Regions from separate parts of the Homo sapiens genome. Here all the other regions are linked to region 2. The links are contacts of gene promoters, found by promoter capture Hi-C in blood cells and fetal thymus (Javierre and others, 2016). All regions are on one chromosome and are shown on one strand. Each heading gives the region's core, a stretch centred on a gene start or on the middle of the fragment in contact. The rest is flanking DNA. Distances are from core to core; before and after follow the strand shown.

The links. Contacts are between HindIII fragments. The CHiCAGO score rates a contact against its expected background, and 5 or more counts as called.
Region 1: a fragment that was not itself captured here is called in contact with the fragment with the promoter of LLGL1 in region 2 in 1 of 17 cell types (endothelial precursors); the score reaches 6.5 in endothelial precursors.
Region 3: a fragment that was not itself captured here is called in contact with the fragment with the promoter of LLGL1 in region 2 in 1 of 17 cell types (M2 macrophages); the score reaches 5.1 in M2 macrophages.

Annotation. Positions count from the first base shown.
Region 1 is chr17:18,345,058-18,348,042 of GRCh38, reverse strand. SHMT1 (serine hydroxymethyltransferase 1) reads left to right here. Exons shown (of 12, transcript NM_004169.5): 5 at 387-547. Among named protein-coding and RNA genes, the nearest start is that of MIR6778, 5.7 kb to the right of the region's middle. The HindIII fragment of the contact is 4,313 bases long and covers 1-2,985 here.
Region 2 is chr17:18,224,385-18,227,677 of GRCh38, reverse strand. LLGL1 (LLGL scribble cell polarity complex component 1) reads right to left here and starts at 2,043. Exons shown (of 23, transcript NM_004140.4): 1 at 1,915-2,043. The coding sequence starts at 1,995. RefSeq lists silencers at 1,582-1,751, 1,902-2,381. The HindIII fragment of the contact is 4,006 bases long and covers 1-2,853 here.
Region 3 is chr17:18,131,111-18,134,098 of GRCh38, reverse strand. MYO15A (myosin XVA) reads right to left here. Exons shown (of 66, transcript NM_016239.4): 9 at 2,757-2,860; 10 at 2,568-2,631; 11 at 1,533-1,646; 12 at 713-874. Among named protein-coding and RNA genes, the nearest start is that of MYO15A, 24 kb to the right of the region's middle. The HindIII fragment of the contact is 6,162 bases long and covers 1-2,988 here.

The DNA of each region.
Region 1 (2,985 bases), core at 440-2,939, 120 kb before region 2:
AGCCTGAGGCAGGAGAATTGCTTGAACCTGGGAGGCGGAGGTTGCAGTGAGCTGCCGAGATGGCGCCATTGCATTCCAGCCTGGGCAACAAGAGCGAAACTCCATCTCAAAAAAAAAAAAAAAAAAAACTGCCATAAATAAAAGATAAGTCACGCATCCCTCTGCATTACCCTTGGGCTCCCAGCTCTATACCCCCTCCCAGGCAGTGCCCTCTCTCTGAACTTCACCTCTCAAGGCTGGTGGTGAAGGGGCACCTCCTGGAGCTCAGGGAAGGTACAAGGCCTGTTCTCGCCACTCCTGGGTGAAGGCTTAGTGGCCAAGGTCCCGGATGCCACTTGGTACCTCAGTTAGAAATAATCATGTCTCCTCTGGTCCACTCGTTTCAGGCTCCCCTGCAAACTTTGCTGTGTACACTGCCCTGGTGGAACCCCATGGGCGCATCATGGGCCTGGACCTTCCGGATGGGGGCCACCTGACCCATGGGTTCATGACAGACAAGAAGAAAATCTCTGCCACGTCCATCTTCTTTGAATCTATGCCCTACAAGGTAAGCATGTGTTTCTCTCCTAGCTTTTATTTCCTTGGGAAACCTCTGATGCTTGGCTGTGCCTGCAGGGGTAAGTTTGGTTTATGTGTCACTACAGGAAGTCCCCACCTCGCACCGTTTTTAATTTCCTTGCAGCGGGGACTCCTCAGGTTTTCAGGACCCGCTGGGGCAGCTGGGATGGAGAGACGAGGGTCTGAGCTGAGGCCACAGGGAAACCAGTGAGGGAGGCAACTACTGAGGAGAGTTCAGATGTGGCAGGGGCAGTGGCAACTGCTTGGAATAGCAACCCTGGGGAATAGCAACCAGGTCACTACAGTTGGACCCCAGCAACAGCCACCACCTCTGCAGCTCTGCCCTCGCCTGGTGACATCTCTGCTCGGAGCCCCTGTGGGCCAGCAGCAGCACAAGGATGCAGTAGCTACAGGCATGGCAACGTCCCCAGCTCCAGCACCAAAACCAGCAGCCCGGCACCATCCACAGCCACAGTCCTCCATGGCCACGTTAGGGCTAGCCCCTGCCTGTGTATAGTGGCTACAGAGGAACAGACAGTGGTTTGACTTAGGGCGTTCAACTTTAGGATAGTGCAAAAGTGACATGCGTTATTAGCTGTACTTCAAGCCCCCCATACGACCATTCTGCTTTTCAGTTTCAGTACAGTATTCAGTAGATTACATGAGATAGTCAACACCGTATTATAAAATAAGGTTTGTGTTTGACTATCTTGCCCAGTGGAGGGTACCACAGTGTCCTCAGCATGTTTAAGGTAGGCCAGACTAGGTTGTGATGTTTGGTAGGTTAGGTATATTACATGCATTTTTGACTTTATGATATTTTCAGCTTAATGATGAGCTTATTGGAATGTAACCCCATAAGTTGAGGAGCACCTGTATGGCTCAGGTGTACACCCCATTGCCATTGCCACCCCACTGCACATACCTGATAACGCAGCCAGCCCAGCAGTGGAACCAACACCATCAGAACCAGTGCCAAGTGCTGCCTCTAGGGTGTGCAGGGCCCCAGGCAAATACTTGTTTTTCGTGGGACCCGTCTGTATAAACAGTTGGGTCAAAAAATGCCTGTAAGATGTGTGGGCTTATTCAGGCATGGTGATTTATCTATAAAAACGAAGGATAATGGGAAGAAGAGGTAACTTGCTTTTTCTTTTAGTGTCCAGTGTTGGTGATTCTTTCTAGTGTCCCGGAACCATCTTTTCATGTTCTTTATTAATAAATGTGCCATTCCTGCTTAGTTTCATGTTTGTTACCATGAAAAAAGGTAGCACTGCATCCTTCTGCTTGGCTGGCATTGCATGGTCTTGGGTGCATGCTGTCCATGGTTCTGTGTGTACTCAGCCTTTGTCTCAGTGCTGGTGATTGCACGTGTGCTCTTTTTTGCAGTCATTTCTTTTCACAGAACACCTAGGTGTTTGCAGTCACAGATCTCCTCATTGGCCAAGGCCAGCCTTGAAGCTAGATTTTGAAACATGTCACAATAGTAACAAAATAGTTTGTCTTGGCTGGGCTCGGTGGCTCACACCTGTAATCACAGCACTTTGGGAAGCTGAGGTGGGCAGATCACCTGAGGTCAGGAGTTCGAGACCAGCCTGGCCAACATGTTCAAACCCTGTCTCTACTAAAAATACAAAAAATTCCTCAGGTGTGGTGGTGCACACCCGTAGTTCCAGCTACTCAGGAGGCTGAGGAGGGATAATTGCTTGAACCTGGGAGGCGGAGGTTGCAGTGAGCCAAGATTGCTCCATTGCACTCCAGAGTGGGCGACAAGAGTGAAACTCCATCTCAAAAAAAATAAATAAATAAGAAAGGCAGGGTGCAGTTGCTCACGCTTGTAATCCCAGCACTTTGGGAGGCTGAGGCAGGCGGATCATGAGGTCAGGAGTTCAAGACCAGCCTGGCCAACACAGTGAAACCCCGTCTCTACTAAAAATACATGGTGGTGCACTCCTGTAATCCCAGCACTTTGGGAGGTCGAAGTGGGCGGATCATCCGAGGTCAGGAGTTCGAGACCAGCCTGGCCAACATGGTGAAAGCCTTCTCTACTAAAAATACAGAAATTAACTGGACGTGGTGGCGGGCACCTGTAATCCCAGCTACTCAGGAGGCTGAGGCAGGAGAACCACTTGAACCTGGGAGGCGGAGGTTGCAGTGAGCCAAGATTGCACCAGTGCACTCCAGCCTAGGTGACAGAGCAAGACTCCATCTCCAGAAAAAAAAAGAAAGAATCTGCGTCCCGCACCCAGTTCCCTCCAGCCACCCCCGTCTTTGATGTACATTGTGCAGGCTGCAGTCCTGTGGGTGCAGTGAGGGGACCCACCTCAGGATGGGCATGGAGAGGTGGGGCCTGGGACCCTGGCCAGCTTGGGCAGCAGGAGGTGCAGCTCACCCGCTGTGGGGGTGATTTGAGTCCTGCCCTTGGCGGAC
Region 2 (3,293 bases), core at 794-3,293:
AGCTCATGTCTGTAATCCTAGCACTTTGGGAAGCCAACATGGATGGATAGATAGCTTGAACCCAGGAGTTCGAGACCAGCCTGGGCAACATGGTGAAACCCCATCTCTACAAAAAATACAAAAACTAGCCGGGCATGGTGACACGAGCCTGTAGTCCCAGCTTCAGGAGGCTGAGATGGGAGGATCACCTGAGCCAGGGAGTTGTGAGGCTGCAGTGGACTGTGATTGTGCCACTGCACTCCAGCCTGGGTGAGAGTGAGACCCCATTTCAAAAAAAAAAAAGTGACATTTAGCCCTGTGCCTGTTGCTGCCTTTCCCTGAAGGGCCATTCTCCTCTCACCTCACCCTCACAGCCTCCCCGGCACAGAAAATAGGTGCCATCTGGGGACCACGGAGCACCAGCTTCCCTTCTGGGCCCCTCTCAGGTTCCTAGCAGGTTCTCAGCCACCGTGTGAGGGTCCTGGCAGCTCTCATCGGCAATCACTGCAGACCTAGGCAGGGAAACCCTGAGACATCCCAGTGCCTCCACTACTCCAGGTCCAGCCGTCCCAGAGCCTCCTCCAAGACAAGTGTCTCCTCAAGGCAGCCCAGGGCGCCTGGCACAACACTGGCCCAGGACCACAGCAGCCCCTTGGAAAAATCCCTGCCCCTCAAGGCTAAAATCCAACCCCACTGACACAAGAACTCAAGAAAGATATTGGTGCAGCTCACTCTGACTCCGGGCAAGCCGTCACCCCTCTCAGAACCTCAATTTTCTCACCTGTATTTTGAAGATAACTCTAATTTCGAAGAGCACTGAGAGGCTCTGCCATCAGTGGGCTCTGGGGTAAGAATGAGGACAAAACCAACGTCCCCAGAGCAGTGAGCCAGGAGTGGGCTGAGGCCCTGCTCTAACATCAGTGCAGAGGGAGGCGGGGGCTGAGGCGGCCCCTTTCCCTGGCCCCTAGTGTCCCACTCCGGGAAAGGAAGGAAAAGCCTCCACCTCACTCCACCTTGGTGCAGAAAGGCAGGACAGCTGGCCCATGTGGCAGAGGGAGCCAGGGCCCACAGTATGGAGAAAAGTAGCCTCATTTCACAGCTAGGGAAACTGAGGCCCCACGATGCGAAGTGCAGTGTAGTACACAGCCAGGCATGTCCCCTGGACTCGGAGCCCCGGGCAGGGCAGAGCAGGGCAAGGCAGAGCCTGGAGCAGTGGGGGAAGGAAGGAGAGGCTCCTTGAAGGGATTTCCCAGCCGCACCCCCCACAGCTGCCTCGCCCCCACTAACTCTCTCACCCTCCTGGGTGCCAAAGCACAAAACAAACCGGGCCCCAGGGCTGTCCCAAGGGCCGAGCAGGGACGCAATGGAGCCCCTAAGAAAAAGGATAAAGAGACAGAAGTGAGCGACAGAGGTCGAGAGACTCCACAGAGACAGAGAGAGAGACACGCAGGGAGAGACAGGCAAAGAAGACTCAGAGACGCACAGGCAGCAAGAGAAATGAGAGGCAGAGAGATAAAGGGAGACAGGCAGAGATAGGAAGGGGCAGAGGCAGAGACACCCCCACCACACACACAGGCACAACTGGGGCGAGACAGCCGGTCAGCGGCGGAGAAAGAGGGACAGAGACCCAGAGACAGGCAAAGAGTCTCAGAGACAGACCCCCACACACACAGACTGGCAGAGCCAGGGCCAGAGCGGCCCGCAGAGACTCGGGGAGCAGACACGGAAAGTCGGCCGGAGACCCAGACCCACCCAGAGTCCGAGCCAGAGCGGGGCCCGCCGAGGGGGTGCGCGGCCCGGCCCGGCCCCGCCCCGCGCCGCGCTGCATGCCAGCCCCCGCCCCCCGGGCCCGACGTGGCTCCGACCCCGGGCCCCCAGCCCAGGCCCCCGTCCCGCCCCCTCCCGCCCGAGCCCGGGCCCGGGCCGCCGCCGCACCTTGTTGAAGGCGAAAAGCTCCTGCTTGAGCTTCTCGCGCTGCGGGTCGGCGCCCTGCCGCCGGAACCGAAACTTCATCATCTTGCGCCCGGCTGCAGGCGCCTCGCCCGCCGCCGCCGCCCGCAGGATGCGCCGCGCGGCCCCGCGGGTCCTAAGGCGCGGGCGGGGCGCCAGGCGGCCCGGGCGCGGGCGCGCGGGGCCGGGCCTGCACGGGGGTGGGCGCCGGGCGCGACGGACGCGCCGCCCGACCAGTGAGCGAGCCCGCCGTGCCGCCCGCCCCGCCCCTGTTGGCCAGACAATGGTGAACTGGGCCCCCGGGCTCGGCCGGGCTCGCGAAGGGACGCCCGCCTAGCATGCGCCGCGGCGCGGGGCCTGCCGGGACTTGTAGTCCATGAGCCGGGGCTCCAGCGCGGGCGGCTGGGGAAGCGCTTTGGAGGGGGATTGGCGCACGTTCCCGGGCTTGGAGGAGACTTTTTCCTCCTCCCAGAGAGCGAGCGACGTGCCCACTCATGTAATGGGGCAGCCCTGTTCCGAAAGCCAAGACAGCTCTGACTGGAACAACTCCCTGGCCCCTCTGCGCCTCAGTTTCCCCATCTACACCATTGGTCAAGTGATTGCCAAGTTTATATTTTACCAATTTCACAGAACTCCATTTCGTCTGTTCCCCGCTCTGTCAGAGCACCTCCCACCGCCGTGCTTTTGCCTTGGCTTTGTAGTCAGGAATTCTTTCCTCACCCCCAGCCCCTGGGGAACTCCTACACATCTTTCAGGACCCAACGCAAAAGGCTCTGTGTCACAGCACAGGGGATTCTTTCTTAGCCAAAGAAAGAGACGGGATCCCCAGGAGGTGGCATTTGGGACTGTTCTGGGGTTGGATTGGAGCTTTACGGAGATGGGGGAAGGACCTCCCCCCGCAGAGAACAGCGTCTGAACAAAGCTTAGCCCTGCCCCTACTCTCAGGGGCCGTCTGCCTGTCCCCACCCACCTCCCAGGCCTTTTCTCATCTGGACAATGGCCTCGAGGCTGAACCTTTCCTTCCAGGCTGAGGATAGGCCGCCTGGCTCAGGGCTGGGGCTGCGGGAGGTCCTAGAAGCTTAGGTGGGGCAGGTAGGACAGGCCCCAACCCCACCAGCTGTGTCCAGGGAGCAGGAGCTGACCTCTGAGCCCGAGGCGGCTGCCAAGCCTTGGGGCCTGGCTGTCCCCCTCCACCCACGCCAGGCCGGCGGTGTTCAGCCCTTCCCCGTATTTGGGGCTGGATCCGGAAGAGGGCCCAGGAGTGAGTGAGGAGGTGAGAGGAGGGAGAATGACGACAGTAAAGCCCCTAAGTGTCTACTGCGGGGCAGGCGCTGTTCAAAGCCCTTTCCTGGTTTCAGCTGACT
Region 3 (2,988 bases), core at 75-2,574, 93 kb after region 2:
GGAATCGCTTGAACCTGGGAGGCAGAGGTTGCAATGAGCCGAGATTGCGCCACTGCACTCCAGCCTGGCGACAGGGCGAGACTCCATCTCAAAGAAAAAATAAATAAATAAAAATAAAATAAAATAAAATAAACACCAAAGGGCTGGGCGCGGTGGCTCATGCCTATAATCCCAGCATTTTGGGAGGCCGAGGCCGGTGGATCATTTGAGGTCAGGAGTTCAAGACCAGCCTGGCCAACATGGTGAAACCCCGTCTCTACTAAAAATACAAAAATTAGTGGGGCGGTAGTGGTGTGTGCCTGTAATCCCAGGCAGTCGGGAGGCTGAGGCAGGAGAATCACTTGAGCCTGGGAGGCGGTGGTTGCAGTGAGCCAACAGGAGTGAGCCAAGACTGCGCCATTGCACTCCAGCCTGGGTGACAGAGTGAGACCCCTCCCCGCCAATAAAAACCCACCAAAAAACATTGTAAACAAAGTTAAAACATAAATGACAAACTGGAATATATATTTGCAATTCATATCAGACACAAAGGGCTGATTTCCTTAATATATATAAGGAGGAAAAAGATGAACAACCCCAAAGGAAAAAAGAAAAAAACAGGAACAAGTGATATGTGCATAGTGTAATCTGAAAGGGAAACAGAGAAGGCCTTGGAAAAGACGGCCAAGTCCAGAGGGTGCGGGCCCCATGGCAGGCTGTGGCGTCCCCTCACCTCATACTTCTCAAAGTAGACGTTGCCCAGGTGCAGGATGGAGGCCAGGATGCGGAAGATGCTGTCCTGGTCCTCACTGCTGAAGCCCAACACCTCCATGGCAGCCAGGAGCCGGCGAAAGTCATCTGCATCGCTCTTTCCTGCTATCTCACAGTTCCCACCCTGCATGAGGGCAGAGGCTGAGGGTCAGGGAGCTTGGGTGGGGCTGGGGAGCCCTCCAGGTCCTGCTCTGCCCTGACCAGTAGTGTGGTGGCCTGAGTTGGTCACTCAAGCTGTCATTTCACTCTCATGGGCACGGAGGCTCTGAGCACGGCTGAGGACGGAGTTCATAGATTCTAAGTGCAATGTGTGGCAGGGGTTGTCACCTGTTGACCTTTGCAGCTGCCCAGTGATAGTAATGAAAAGAGTAGCAAGTGTTTACTGAGCATGTACTGCATGCCAGGCCCTGTGCTAAGCTCTTTACATGCGTTTCCTCATCTAAGCCTCACTACATCCCTGCAAAGTGGTACTATGTTGTCCCCATTTTACAGGTGAGGAAACTGAGGCACAGAGAGGGGAAGTGTAGAAACTCTAGACTGGTTGGTTCTGTTCCAGGTTCCAGAGAAATGAAGTCAGGTAGGCCTTTCCTGCTTCCGCTTTGGACCCAGAAGACTCCTGGTCCCCCTCACTGCCATGAGATGTCTTAAATCCAAACTCACCCTCCCCAAATCTCCTTCACCTTCACACTCCATCACTCACAACTCGGCTCCCAAGGCCCAGCCAGGGGCGTCGGGGTGGGAGGACCAGGGCCAGGGGCCTTCAGATGCCTGCTGGCACTCACCTGGTTCAGATAGTAGTAGGTCTCAGCCTCTTGCAGGCTAAAGGCCTGCCTGAGCTGGGCAGGCAACCCGGCCAGCAACTCGTAGAAGATGTGGTAATTCCTCTCGTTTTTGGCCTGTAGAGTGGGTAGGTGGGCACAGAGAAGGGAGCCACCTACCTAGGTGACCCCCAGGCACACATACAAGCCCAAGCCTGCCCACAAGTGCACATGCACACAGTGGGCTGCAGATGAGAACACGCGCCTCTGTGATGGGTGAGGCTCCCAGCCTGGTGCCAGCTGCGGGTGAGGGCAGAAGCAGAGGTGCCCTGGTATGATTGAAGTTTGAGAGGGTTCTGGTGGGATTTTATTTGGTTAGGAGAAATAAGAGAAAAGGGACCCGTCTTCTCTTATGTGTACCGGCCACACACACCTGCATACATGTGTGTCCATAGCCCACATGTGCACACACAGAGCTTCTTGATGGCTGAGCACTTCCTGTGCACCAAGCCCTGTCCTAGGCCCTTGGGACATAGTGGGGAACAACGTAGAGAGAAGCCCCTGACCTGATGGAGCCCACCTGCTAGCTAGGGAGACAGACACTCAGCAAATAACTGCTTAAAACATAAAATATATGAGACAGGGAAAAGTACACTGGAGAGAAATAAAGCAGTGGACGGGGTAGGGGCTCTGATGGGATGGAGAGGGGCTGCGTTTTTAAATGGGGAGCTTCCTGAGTGGGTGAAATTGTAGGGGAGACTTGGAGGAGGTGAGGGGTTTGGCCAAGCAGGTGCCTGAAGGATAAGTGCTCCTGAGGGAAGGAACAGAAGGTGCAAAGGCCCTGGCAGGAGCGTGCCTGTGTGCTGCGGGGCAGGGAGGAGCCACCGTGGCTGGAGGAGGGTCGGGGAGGGGAGGTCCTGGGCTCACATGTACACATGTACGCATGTATTCGTTCATTAATTTGACGTCTACCTAGCCCTACCAGGGGCCAGGCTCTGAGTATCTGTACCTCCCACCCCGACCCTGCCCAACACAGAGGCCTGGGAGGGGGTGGCCCACCTGAAACACGATCCTGGATTTCTCAAGCAGGTACTGGGAGGTTATGGCACCAGAGATCACGCCCCTGGGGTGGGGAGCACAGTCAGCTCTCAGTGAGGGTAGGAGGGCTGGTGTTGGCTCCGAGGGGCTGTGGCAGGACATGGAAGACACTGCAAGGCTTTTGGGAGGCCCTCCACTGTCCCAACTCACCCTTCCAGAAAGATTTCCACAAACTTCCCAAAGCGGCTGGAGTTGTCGTTCCTGACGGTTTTGGCATTACCGAAGGACTCCAAGAGGGGTGTTGCCTCCAGGATCTGGACTCCAGAAGGAGATGTGGGAATTGAGGGGCTAGGCACTGTTCTGGGGGCCTGGGTGGGGGGCATAGCTGGGGACACCCAGACATGAGCCTTCCCAAGGACCTCCCTTTATGAGAGATGACCAG